3 separate regions of the Homo sapiens genome follow, and regions 1 and 3 are each linked to region 2. The links are contacts of gene promoters, found by promoter capture Hi-C in blood cells and fetal thymus (Javierre and others, 2016). All regions are on one chromosome and are shown on one strand. Each heading gives the region's core, a stretch centred on a gene start or on the middle of the fragment in contact. The rest is flanking DNA. Distances are from core to core; before and after follow the strand shown.

Region 1 (4,000 bases), core at 223-2,722, 150 kb after region 2:
TAAAAGTGTGTATCTATGTGTTATCTACATAATTTTTAAAAGAAAATTTCCAAAAAAAATATTTTTTTTTTTGAGACAGAGTCTCACTCTGTCAGCCAAGCTAGAGAGCAGTGGCACGGTCTCAGCTCACTGCAACTTCCGCCTCCCTGGTTCAAGCAATTCTCCTGCCTCAGCCTCCCGAGTAGCTGGGACTACAGGCACCCGCCACCACGCCTGGCTAATTTTTGTGTGTATTTTTAGTAGAGACAGGGTTTCACTATGTTGGCCAGGCTGGTCTCGAACTCCTGACCTCGTGATCCACCTGCCTCGGCCTCCCAAAGTGCTGGGATTATAGGCGTGAACCACTGTGCCCAGCCCCAAAAAATATTTTTAATAAAAAATTGGGACACGGCAGGTGCAGTGGTTCACACCTGTAATCCCAGCACTTTGGGAGGCCAAGGTGGGCAGATCATTTGTGGCCAGAGTTCAAGACCAGCCTGGGCAACATGGTGAAACCCTGCCTCTACTAAAAGTACAAAAATTGGCCAGGTGTGGTACCACAGGCCTGTAATCCCCACTATTCAGGAAGCTGAGGCAGGAGAATTGCTTCAACCCGGGAGGTGGAGGTTGCCATGAGCCAAGATCACACTACTGCACTCCAGCCTGGACGATAGAGCAAGACTTCATCTCAAAAAAAAAAAAAAAAAATAGGACAAGCCATAAAAATAGAAGTCTACTTTAGCATTGAGGATTTCTGTCTCCTTGTTCACATTTATTTTTGAGACCTTGCCAAAGCACCCCATGGATATGCTTACCAGAACTTATTCCAGAGGGGAAATGTAGCAGGCAAGTTTCCTTGGCATTTATGAAATGAACCACGCTAGTTCTCTCAAGAGGATTCTCACACAGAATTCTGGCTCCCAAACAATTATTTTCCAGCCATGACAATAATCTCATGAATAACACAAAAACGTCCATGATGGCAACAGAAAGTAGGAATGAAAACACATGGGGCTCAGGGTCAAAAGACTTTGGGAGGCCAAGCACAGTGGCTCATGCCTATAATCTCAGTATTTTGGAAGGCTGAGGCGGGTGGAGCATCTGAGGTCAGGAGTTGGAGACCAGTCTGGCCAACATGGTGAAACCCCTTCTCTACTAAAAATACAAAAATTAGCTGGGCATGGTGGTGTGTGCCTGTAATCCCAAGCTGAGACAGGAGAATCGCTTGAACCCGGGAGACAGAGGTTGCAGTGAACTGAGATCGCGCCACTGCACTCCAGCTTGGGCAACAGAGCGAGACTCTGTCTCAAAAAAAAAAAAAAAAAAGAAAGAAAGCACTGAGAGCTCCAAATGTAGCATGGAACAGGACCTTCTAGAAATTGCCACAGGCAATTATCTCCCCACTGCATGGCTACAGAGCTTCCCTGATAACGCTCACAACACCACCATCCAAAGTTTCCTACCAGCTTTCGGCAAAGAGGTACACCTGAAAGTTTACAGGGGCTGCCTGCTGTAAGGTTTCAGAGTCATTAGATATGGACAAGGCATAAAGAATTGCTTTATATACACAGCATTTGGATAACATTTGTCCCCGTGATCCACTGATGAGCAATTACTTGGCTTATGTGGGATCTGTTTCATAGTTTAAGTTCCCTTAAAAGAATCAACAACAGAGCCTTGCATAGAGTATTCAGAGGGCCTCTCAATTAGTCTTTGCCACCAACATCCTCCTGTTCAAATCGTTTCTTCATGCTGCCACTAAAGTGATCTATGGGAAGGGGAGAGACATAGGTAAGTCAAGTCAAGTTGGAGGAATGGCCATGTAAGTTTATTTCCTCTGCCTCCTATTTTCAACCTAAGTACAGCAAATGACTTTTTTAAGGGGTGAAGACACAAGAACAAACACTATGGGAGTGAATATAGCAGTGGGCAAGAGAGCCCAATAATTTTCTAGACAGTGGATAAAGGATTAATAACTGACCAAGAAGAGCATAAGAAACTACCCCTCAAGTGCCTGCAAAGGGAGACAGTGAAGAGAAACAAGCTGATTTGCCTTGCAAAATCCCACAAGGGCTCCGAGGCACAGAGAAGACTGAGAGGTGGGTTAGTTAAAAGACTGTCAAGTTCCCACACATACACACACACCCTGCCCAACCAAGTAAATACAGACACACATATATGGATATACCAGAAGAAACCAGATGTTTATTCTCTGGATAAATAAAAATGACAATTTTTTAATTCAATAGCGCCAGGCACCATGGAGATGTATGAAACAAAAAAATAGATTTTGAGTTAAAAAAAAAAAAAAAAGACAGAGCTCACTCTGTCGCCCAGGCTGGAGTGCAGTGGCGTGATTTCGGCTCACTACAACCTCCGCCTCCCAGGTTCAAGTGATTCTCCTGCCTCAATCTCCCAAGTAGCTGGGATTACAGGCGTGAGCCACTATGTTCAGCTAATTTTTGTGTTTTTACTAGAGATGGGGTCTCACCATGTTGGCCAGGCTGGTCTCGAACTCCTGGTTTCAAGTGATCCACTGCCTCGGCCTCCCAAAATGCTAAGATTGCAGGCTTGACCCACCGCGCCTATACTAATATCTTTATACTGAATTTACCCTGGTACTCTTTAACCTACGAAAGGAGAACTAAGCTCTTTACCCTAGTACTATTTTTAAAACAGCACACCTTTCAGGAAAGTTTTCACTCTGAGAGAAGCCAAAGTAAATGGGGGGTTGGAGGGAGAGAAAACCAAAGCAAAGGAAAACAACACAGAGAGCACAGAAGTACTTCTAAAAATCTATAAAATAATATTGTCAGAGATATAGGAGAAGATAGTATATCCATGAAGCATGAACAGGATGCTGTAAAAAAAAAAAAAGGAACAGAGTACAGAAATTGCTTTTAAAAAATTAAAAGTAGGATAGCCAAAATAAAAAGTTTCATAGCGAGGTTGGTGAACAGAGTTGAGGAAATCACCCAAAAGGTTTAAAAATAAAAAAGTGAGATGAAAAATAGAAGATAAAAGATAAGAGAATTGGAGAGTCAATCCAGGATATTTCATAAAGAAGGAAAAAATAAATGACAATAAAAAAAATATTAAAAAATAATTCAAGCAACTTTCCAAGAACTATAGGATATGGATCTCCAAGAATGAAAATATCCACCAATGGGCTTTTGATTTACAATGAGTTTTTTTTTTTAATGCCAAGCTTTATCATCATGAAATCTTAGAACACTGGTGATAAAAGACTTTTCTAAGAGCATCAAGAGAGAAAAAGCAAAGTTGAAGTCAAATTAACACATGACTTCTCAACAGCAACAGTGGATACTAGAAAACCATAAAGCAATATTGTCAAAATTCTGAGTGAGACTAGAATTTATAGCCAGCCAAACTATGAATCAAGCATAAAAGAAAAATAAGGACATCTTCAGACCAGCAAACCCAGAAAGAGCACAACATAGCTGCCCAAAAATAGTGGATATAATATTGATGAAAAGTCCCAGAAGACAACTGTGCAACTGGCCAAGAAAGCAGCCTGTTCAGCAGGCTCTGAAAGGGAGGACATCAAGGAAAAGAAGAAACTGGAGTGAGTGAGTGCATGGAAAATGTTATTGACAGCTACGGAATAAAACATTGGAGCATTTAGAGGAAATATTAATGGTGTCATAGTTATCTAGTAAATGAAAACTAAGGCAACTTTTAATACTCAGCTAAACAATTATACTAGAAAAGAAGCATAATTATATTATTTGGCTTGATAGTGAATAATAGTTGTGTAGTAATATGATGTAAACATTAACTACTAATTTTACTTTTTTAAAGTGTGATATAAGCATGTCGAGAAACTGATGAAACTGAATGAGGCAGGAAGAGAACTAAATTCTTATCTACTATGCCTGTAATCCCAGCACTTTGGGAGGCTGAGGCAGGAGGGTCACTTGCGGCCAGGAGTTCGAGACCAGCCATGGCCAACATGGTGAAACCCAACTCTACTAAAAATACAAAAAAATTAACCAGGCAT
Region 2 (4,450 bases), core at 1,346-3,845:
ACCAACCTTTAAAAGCCAGCAGAATAGATATAGAATATTCTCTTGTTGTGAAAATACCTTGTAAATGTACAATCACAGGTGGGTAAAGAACAAATTGTGAGCCATCTGAGTCTCTAGCAGTCTAATACTCCACTAACTGACCAAGTAGATCATCAATGAGCTATCTTTTTTTAAAGAGATCTATGAGTGCTCTTTTCAATATGGTTCAGATCACAGAGGAACCTGGTTTTGAACACTGTTCTCTTTGCTGGGAAGAAGAGATCTTAAAAAGGGATCCTGCAAAGGCCTGTTCCAGAAAAGCACACAGGATTAGGATTTGACTGTGCCTGCAGCGATATTGAAAACTAAAACTTTAGCCAAATTCCCAGAGATACTTCTAGTGTATCCCCTGATGTACTGAACAGTGCTGGGCAGATAGTAAGTGTTCATTAAATATGTGTTGGCTGCTGATTGTTAATCTGGGCAAGATGTTCACAGACATCTGAATATTTAGAAGACATTTGGATACGCAGCTGAAGTTTACAGTTTTCACGTGGATGTTCTTTTAAAAAGCTGAAGAAGGGAGATGATTGCCAAATGTATTATCTCTATCTCGAGTTGCTAAGGCTCACAAAGTCTCCTATTTCCAGCAGAGAGAAAAATGCTTAAAACTAGATTCATCAGCAACCTGAAGAAAGCCAAAAGAAGCAATCTTAAAGATCTTTTTAGTATCTTGATCATTCAGTAGAATACTACAGTGCTAAAGACTCCAGATGCCACACAGCTTGTTTCTTTGCCCATATGTAATGTACATTTACAATCACATGTACAAAGGCATATTATGCCAAGAGAAAAAGCAATCCACTGCATATACATGCTATATCATAAGTATGATTGTGTTAACCACTTCCTCCCTAATTTCCTTATGTGAAGTACTGTTTTCTTGGTCAATAAGCCCCATAATTTACAAAATATACAGATCCTATTCAGTTGAAAGAAACATGCATATGTGTTCACCAAACAAAATATTTTCTCAATATTCTATTTCTTATTGTATATAAACAAAAATAAACTAAGCAAAAAATAAAACTCTCCTAATACTTTAAGAATTTGTTTTTTTAATTTTGTATGTCTTGCAAATTAAAAGATGATTAATTTATACATTATATGTCTAAGAAGTAGGAGAATTAATGAGATTAGCACAATACTGGATAAATATTATTCATAAAAAATGTATTAAATACATAAAACATAATAATTATTTAGAAATTTCTCAGTCCTTTTTATAATTTTGAAAGCTTCCTGGTATTACACAACTGATGGATGGGGTTATAGCATGTGTTGCTTCTTAATAATAGCTCTTCATAATAAGATCATGAGATATCTATACGTAGAGTATTTTTAAATCATCATTCTTTTTATTCTAAACATTTTTAAAATGTTAAATATTTTAAACTAGTTACTATGTTTAAAATAAATTCTACAAATGCTTAACTACATTATTTAGCTAAAATTTCAACCGACGAAGTTTTTCTTTAAGTGTACAAGTGGTCAACCTCATTCTTTACAGACTTCCAGTTTTTATTTTTCTCTATTGTTATTTTTCCTTGTCTTAACACCATCTGCTATTTTTCCAGATGACCAAAACCTTTATAAAGTCAGATGAGGTTTGTTTTATGCTTCAGGGGACCCTCTTTGAAGAGTGAGTTATTTTGTTAGATGACTTAAGCTCACTCTATTCCATAAAGTGCATTTGTGTTTATCAGAAATATTTGATCTTGAGAGTGGCCCTCCATCCTGTGGACCCTTTCAAGATCAAAGAATCACTAAATCTGGGGGCTAGAAACCATTCCAAGAGGTTATCTAGTGCAGACCTTTGTAATCGCTGCCTCGCAGAGGAGAGAGCACCTAAGCCATCCTTAACAGATTACCTGTCAAGTTTCTAAAGTTTTCCAGAAAAGGAGCCAACACAATCTTCCATTGCAGCTTTCTTTTTGCGATCTCCTAAGGCAACGAGTAAAATGCCACACTTCTTTCTGTGCCTTCCTGCACACTGGTTTCAGTTGCTACTTGGAGCTATCCTTCAGTCTCTACCCATGACAATACCTGTGTGGTGCCTTGTCAAGAATCCACCTGCCTTTTCCCTCTTACTCTTGAGGAGCAAAGCCACCTCACCTCCCAAGCTGGCTAAAAGCTCTCAGCATGCCCCGGGAGGGGAGAGGTAAGGGGTCACTCTTTACCTTTGCAGATACCAAACTCTTCACCAAAAGGATCCTCCCCATTAGAAGGCTGACACCTCAGCCCCGGGCCACACTTCATGCCATCCATGCCTGAGACTGTGCGGTAGCAAGTTTCTCCCCGCCCTGCAGCGCACACTCGGCAGCAGCCACAGTCGTCGAGCACTGTCCTCTTGCAGCGCGGGCTGCTTTTGCACTCACTGCTGTCACAGTGTTGAGGGCAGTCCACCGCATAATTATTGCTCCAGGCGGCCACCAGGTGTGCAGGCACGAGGAGCGTGGTCAGCAGCAAGACGCTCTTCATGTTTCCCAGCTGCCTCCGGCTCGGCTCTCCAGTCGTGGTCTTTGCTGGTGGGAAGCAGCCGTCCAAACTGGTAGCTGAGCCTCTGCCTACACGTTTATGAGTTTTATACACTGGGTTGCCCGCATGCTTTCCCGTCATCAATTTCCTCAACCCAGCAGCAGCGCTGTCCTCCTGCCAGGCTCTCTTGTTTTGGTTTATGAAATCCAGGATGAAGGCTGGATTAACACGCTGCTGCCATCCAGGAATTGAAAAGCCCAAGCTGATGTCATCTGTTATGTTTAGATGGTTGTTTTGCATGAGGACTGAAAAACTCACTCACATCCGTCTCAAGGGCTCAAGGACGTCTGTGAAGGAGGGATAAAGAAGGTTGCACACCCTCCTTCAGGACGGGAATTGTTCTGACCCTGGCATATCACTTGAGGTGTAGCTTTGTCTCAGAGCCTCTGTAGTCAGGAGGAAAATGATATCAACATGAATCATCAGGACCGAAGAAGCTTCTTCAAAAAAAATAATAAACATTTGGTATTTCCCCTCAACAAATAGCTATGAGATCATTTGAAAGAAGAAAGGGTTATATTGTGTCTTTTCAATACTTAGAAGAAAGAAAATATTTTGATAGGGCTATTTTTTAAGACCCTCTCTTCCTTCCTCTCACCCCTCTCCTCAAATGTTATTTCTAAAGCAATTCATGTTACATATATCTAAGCCTATTGTGGATATAGCTGTGCTTCCAGTACAATGTGGAACTGCCTCTGAGAATTTCTTTTAAAATCAATACAAAAAGCCACAAGAGAGGTAAGATCCTTTCGGCACTGCTTCTGGGTTACTCAATTCTGGAAAAACTTATCAGTTGGACTTCTGATCCAAAACTTCCTCAGGGGAAGGCTCATCCATCACTAAGTCTGCTTGTCCAATGACGGAGTCCACCCAGAGCCCTTCCCCTCACCTCCTGGCATCTATCAGAGCCCTCACTAAAAACTGCCAAGCGCGGCAGCCAGCCCAAGGCAACAAGTGGCTCAGCAGGAAAATCAGAACACAGCCCCCAAGAAACAAGTCACAGGGAAGGGAAACATTACCCCTCAGGAAACAAGGTCTGCATGCTAAGAGGGTTACCGTGCCTAGGTCCCTCTGGGAAAACAGAGTAGCCCTCTTAAAATATCAACTGTGCCAGGGTCTTATTAAGTAAGGTTAAAGAGGAGAGAGGGGAGTTCTTACACCAACCACATGCCGAATTCCATGCCCCCACCTCACTTGTCAAAAGAGATATAGACTCACTGTCACTTAGTAAATAACAACCCAGTAAAGTGGGTAATTCTTGGTCTGTCACAAATGAGCTGTAAGAAATTCACAGGACTTCTCTTGGCCTCAGCTTCCTCTTTTGAGAATTGATGGTGTTAGGCTACCTGACCTCTAAAATTCTTGTTTCCCATAGAAGATGAGGCAGAGCGGGCATTGGATGTAACTTGAAGATCGGCTTTTGCAAATGCAATTTTAGGGGGACACAGGGAGTAAATTCAGAATACAGAGAATTGAGGCAGTAGGAAATGAAAGCAAGAGTTTTAGCTTTCAAATTTTCCAAATTTTTCATGACAATCCAATTTGAAATACTCTATCTCCCCAGAAGCACTTACTTAGCAGGTGGCACACTCTGATGTTTTCAGTAATGGGTAATATTTGTTGAGTTAATAGCTTAAACACTTTACATGCATTAACTCATTTGCACCTCATCACAATATTATGAAGTGGCTGCTATTATCATGCTTATTTTTTAAAAGAAGAAACTGAGTAAGAAAGAGGTTAATTTGCCTAAGGTCCCTATATTGAAGGGATGGATGTTAGTCTAATGTCAGAGCCACATATTCTATTGCCTATTACAATACATAATTGTGCTTTCATGGCCAATAGTTCCAATGGCCTAGGTCGCAATTTA
Region 3 (3,886 bases), core at 1,089-3,588, 140 kb after region 2:
CCCCACCTAGCTGAAGGCCATACCTAGCTGCTGGAATTAGTTTTGTAAACAACCAGGTTTTAAGGCTTGATTTACAATACTTCTCTAATCTGAAAAGGTCCAGGGAATTGCATGTCTTTTGATTAAAAATATGAGGATTGACTCATGCTCTTCCTACACTTGCACCTGATCACCAAAATGGCTCTGCTAAGAGTTCCCTGTATTCTGATCCAGGCCACAGAGTGTGACAGCTGAAGAATACAAAGGTCATTCTGAGGCTGAGGTCCAGTCGGGCTCATCATCAGAGGCAGGAAGTCTATCTGATAAGGCTGTTTCATTGTTGCCCACTAATATTCTCAGAATCTCCAAAGAGAGTCATGGTATTATCACTACCTAACATTGCATATATTTGTTTTCTGCATGTCTCCTCTCACAAAAGTGTAGGCTCCCTGAGGGCAAGAACATTGTCTCTCTTGTTCACCTGTGTATCCCCAGCACCCCAAAAAGTACCTCCCACATAATAGATGCTTCATAAATAAATAATCAATAAGTAAACCTCAGGGATTGGCCAGGAGGCCAGGTGAGTGAACAGAGGAAAAAGACGGGATATATAATCAGAGTTCTACAAGAGATTGGATGCCGGTGCCCTGTTCTTGCATCGACCACCAGTTTTGTCTTCCTGTTTCCCTGGGCTGGGTAGAGGAGATACTCTACTCACCCTTGAGCCCCCTTTAACATTCTAGATGCACAAAAGAGGATTTAAGGCCCAGAGGACAGGGCCTGGGTCTTGCTCCCCATCATGGGGTCTTTCTCTCAAGAAGTACCCAGTAAAAGTTTGTAGAACGAAGCTGAGAAGAGTAGTGGTCTACCTTGAAAGGGCAGATGTTCACAGAGGAAGCTCATGGTCATTAGTGGCCTCCTGACACATAATGTCTTGCCCTTTCAGATCGCTTTATCTTCCACCCATTCTACACCGCTGGTTTTTCTTCAAAATAAGATGATTTGTGATGCTAACTCGAGTTCAAAAACTGCCCAAGATCACCACTCCATCATTCATATACATATGCAAGGAGGAGATGACTTAATTTAAAGTGATGAACAATCTTAGGCAAATTCAGAAACATTCAACTATACGCTCTCTGAGGTAGGGTGGATGTAGGACTTTTTCCTCTGATGAAATGTGTACTTAGAAAAACCAGAAGGATAAAATCTTTCATTCAGGGCTTTTCCCCCCAACAACAGCTCACTTTGCTATAGGTGCATGGCATTTTACTCACCCATTTGCTTACCAAAAAACCCACCTGACCTGGACACAGTGGGACAGGTCCACACAGTCACATCATTCTTGGGAGTACCTTGACCAGTTGCAATCTCCTTTGTCTTAGGTAGCCAGATTAAGGAACAAATCTGTAATAATGATCAAAAATAGAGAATTCTTGCAATTTCTGATTCCTTATGAATATAGTTAAACTGGTTACAGGCAGTATGCACTGTCCATGACCCAACCTCCAGTACAGCTGGGGTAGGATGTTAAAGAAATTACAACCATTCTAGGAAAGTTTATCCCAAGGCAACAAAGGATCAAGTATACAAATAGGCTTAGGTGCAATAAATTGAAGAATTTAAGTGAACTGTGATCATTGGCCAGGAAGAGCCAGATTACTCTCAAAGTTCATGGTCAAAGCAGTGATGGGGAAAGAAAGGAAATGTGAAAAAAAGAAAACACAAATTATATTAACTTTGAACTCACAAATGAAGAGGTTTTTACAATAAAAAGAAACTCTTGAGAACTCAAATTCCTTATGGACTCAATAGAGAAAGAGAGCTTGTTGGGGGCATAGGCTCTGTTGTAAACTATTTTCACAAGATTCCAGAAGATCAAAATGAAGATGAAGCCCAGAGGAGATATTAACCTGTGAGTTTGTGCTTGGGGTCTGGATGCTCTTCCCAGCATTTATATCCAAGATGTGTAAGCGTCCATCCTTCATTCCTCCTCCAATGGCAAGGACCCCAGACTGCCAGGGACACCAATCCATGGCCTTTAAAGTTTCACATAATAGCACAGACAGGTCAGCTTCAAAGGAGGTGCACTCATGAATGTGATGCACTTAGGTAAGCAGCAAGTCCCCACGTCTGCACCTGTCACAGCTCTCCTGGGCCTGCTATCTAAAGGCAGGAGCAACTGCACCCTCCAGAGATTATTCCTCAGGGACTAGCAGTCACTTCTGGAAGGGAAGGTACCTAATACGACTCAAATCAAATTGTTATCAAATGATGATAACAATTGTGGATTTTTTAACATAGACTATGCAATAACAGTTGAAAAACTACATGCAATACATCCTATGGGGCAAAAATCTGCTGCTGGGATAGTTCACATGTGCCCTTGCAAATTGGCTCTGAAAATGCAGGCTTTCTCTGATTTGTCTACCTGTGTCCTTATGTTCCAGGTAGTGGTCAGATAAGAGAAAAGAGAACTATATGTGATTGCTCACAACTCAACAGTCTCAAGCACTTCAAATCTTAAAGCAGTTCAGAAAATAAAATTGCCTTCTATTTATTTATAATTATAGTTAATTCTAAAAAATAGGATTTAGTATCACACATTTATATTGATAATTGAAATTACTAATAATAATCACTTTAAAGGACATTTTAACAAATACTACAGTTATATGTATCTGTGTATCCTTATCAATCATCTTGGTAACTACCCTCATTTTTGCATCCTCTCTTCTACACATAAAAATATTTTATAAAGTAGCAAACATCGTGTTTATACTATTTGATTATTTTCTGTTGTTTTCACCTATTGTATAAACAGTTTTCCACGTTTTAATAGACTTTTCACAATTATAATTTTTAACAATCCCATAATATTCCATCGTGTCGTTATATCCTGATTAATTTTTGTTCTGCTAATGCTGGACCTGTTTTGGTTTTTTGTTGTATTGTGGTTTGATTTGTATTGGGTTGGGTTAATTTTTTTTGGAAAGGAGTATTTTTTTTGTTTTTGTGCGTGTGTTTTATTTGCTGTTTGCTCTCATAAAGTACATTGTAATGAATACATTCTACATGTCTTTTTTTCTGACAAATTTTTTAAGTAAATTCCAAGGTTCAAAAGAGTTGACATAAAGTTTTCCAAGCAGTTATAACTTTTTACAGCACCAGCATCCAATGAGTATACTAATTTCACCCTGGCTAAAGGTTACATGAAGTTAAAAATGTTATTTTACATCTAGTGAAATTAAAATCATTACAAAACAGATTATAAGGGTAATTTATTTTCTTCTTAGCAAGAATGAACTTTTTTCTGTGTATTTATGTTCCTCTAGCACTTCCCACCATGTGGATTTTTTGCCATCTAAGCACCTACATCTTAACGCTTTTCTTACAAGTTTGAGTCCATTTTTTAAAAACATACATCTGAATATACAATAGTTGCTCTCATTCTTCATTTAACCAACTTGCTAAATTTACCAAAGTTCTCCACTCCTTCTGTAAAACATACTTACTCCTACCCATAGCATGCTAGTCTTCTGTTCTCTAGAATGCTCCACACTTCTACTCCCACTAATTAAGCTGTGGGTTTATAGAGCCCACTGTGTTTTGCCAAACCTGTTTATGACAGGTGAACTTGTTATTATAACTGTGATTTCATCAAATTACATGTAAATGTTTAATTAAATCACCTACTTTATTTGGACTAAAGATGACTGTTACTTCTATGAACTAAATTAAACAATTTGGAAGTCTTTTCTCTTTTTTTTTTTTTTAAGACACAGTCTCACTCTGTTGCCGAGGATGGAGTGCAGTGCTACCACAAAGGGTCAATGAAGCCTCAATCTCCCTGGGGCTCAAGCGATCCACCTACCTCAGCCTCCCAAAGTGCTGGGATTACAGGCAT

Evidence for each region. The method cuts DNA at HindIII sites, captures the fragments that hold promoters and counts their contacts. A CHiCAGO score of 5 or more calls a contact.
Region 1: a fragment that was not itself captured here is called in contact with the fragment with the promoter of ESM1 in region 2 in 2 of 17 cell types (endothelial precursors and activated CD4 T cells); the score reaches 6.0 in endothelial precursors.
Region 3: a fragment that was not itself captured here is called in contact with the fragment with the promoter of ESM1 in region 2 in 2 of 17 cell types (activated CD4 T cells and non-activated CD4 T cells); the score reaches 5.6 in activated CD4 T cells.

What each region holds. Positions count from the first base shown.
Region 1 is chr5:55,135,890-55,139,889 of GRCh38, forward strand. All of the region lies in intron 5 of CDC20B (cell division cycle 20B), which reads right to left. Among named protein-coding and RNA genes, the nearest start is that of GPX8, 22 kb to the right of the region's middle. The HindIII fragment of the contact is 3,425 bases long and covers 1-3,185 here.
Region 2 is chr5:54,982,998-54,987,447 of GRCh38, forward strand. It overlaps ESM1 (endothelial cell specific molecule 1), which reads right to left and starts at 2,596. Exons shown (of 3, transcript NM_007036.5): 1 at 2,220-2,596. The coding sequence starts at 2,520. The HindIII fragment of the contact is 1,737 bases long and covers 1,276-3,012 here.
Region 3 is chr5:55,118,533-55,122,418 of GRCh38, forward strand. CDC20B (cell division cycle 20B) reads right to left here. Exons shown (of 12, transcript NM_001170402.1): 10 at 1,893-2,018; 11 at 1,269-1,386. Among named protein-coding and RNA genes, the nearest start is that of GZMA, 18 kb to the left of the region's middle. The HindIII fragment of the contact is 7,419 bases long and covers 1-3,886 here.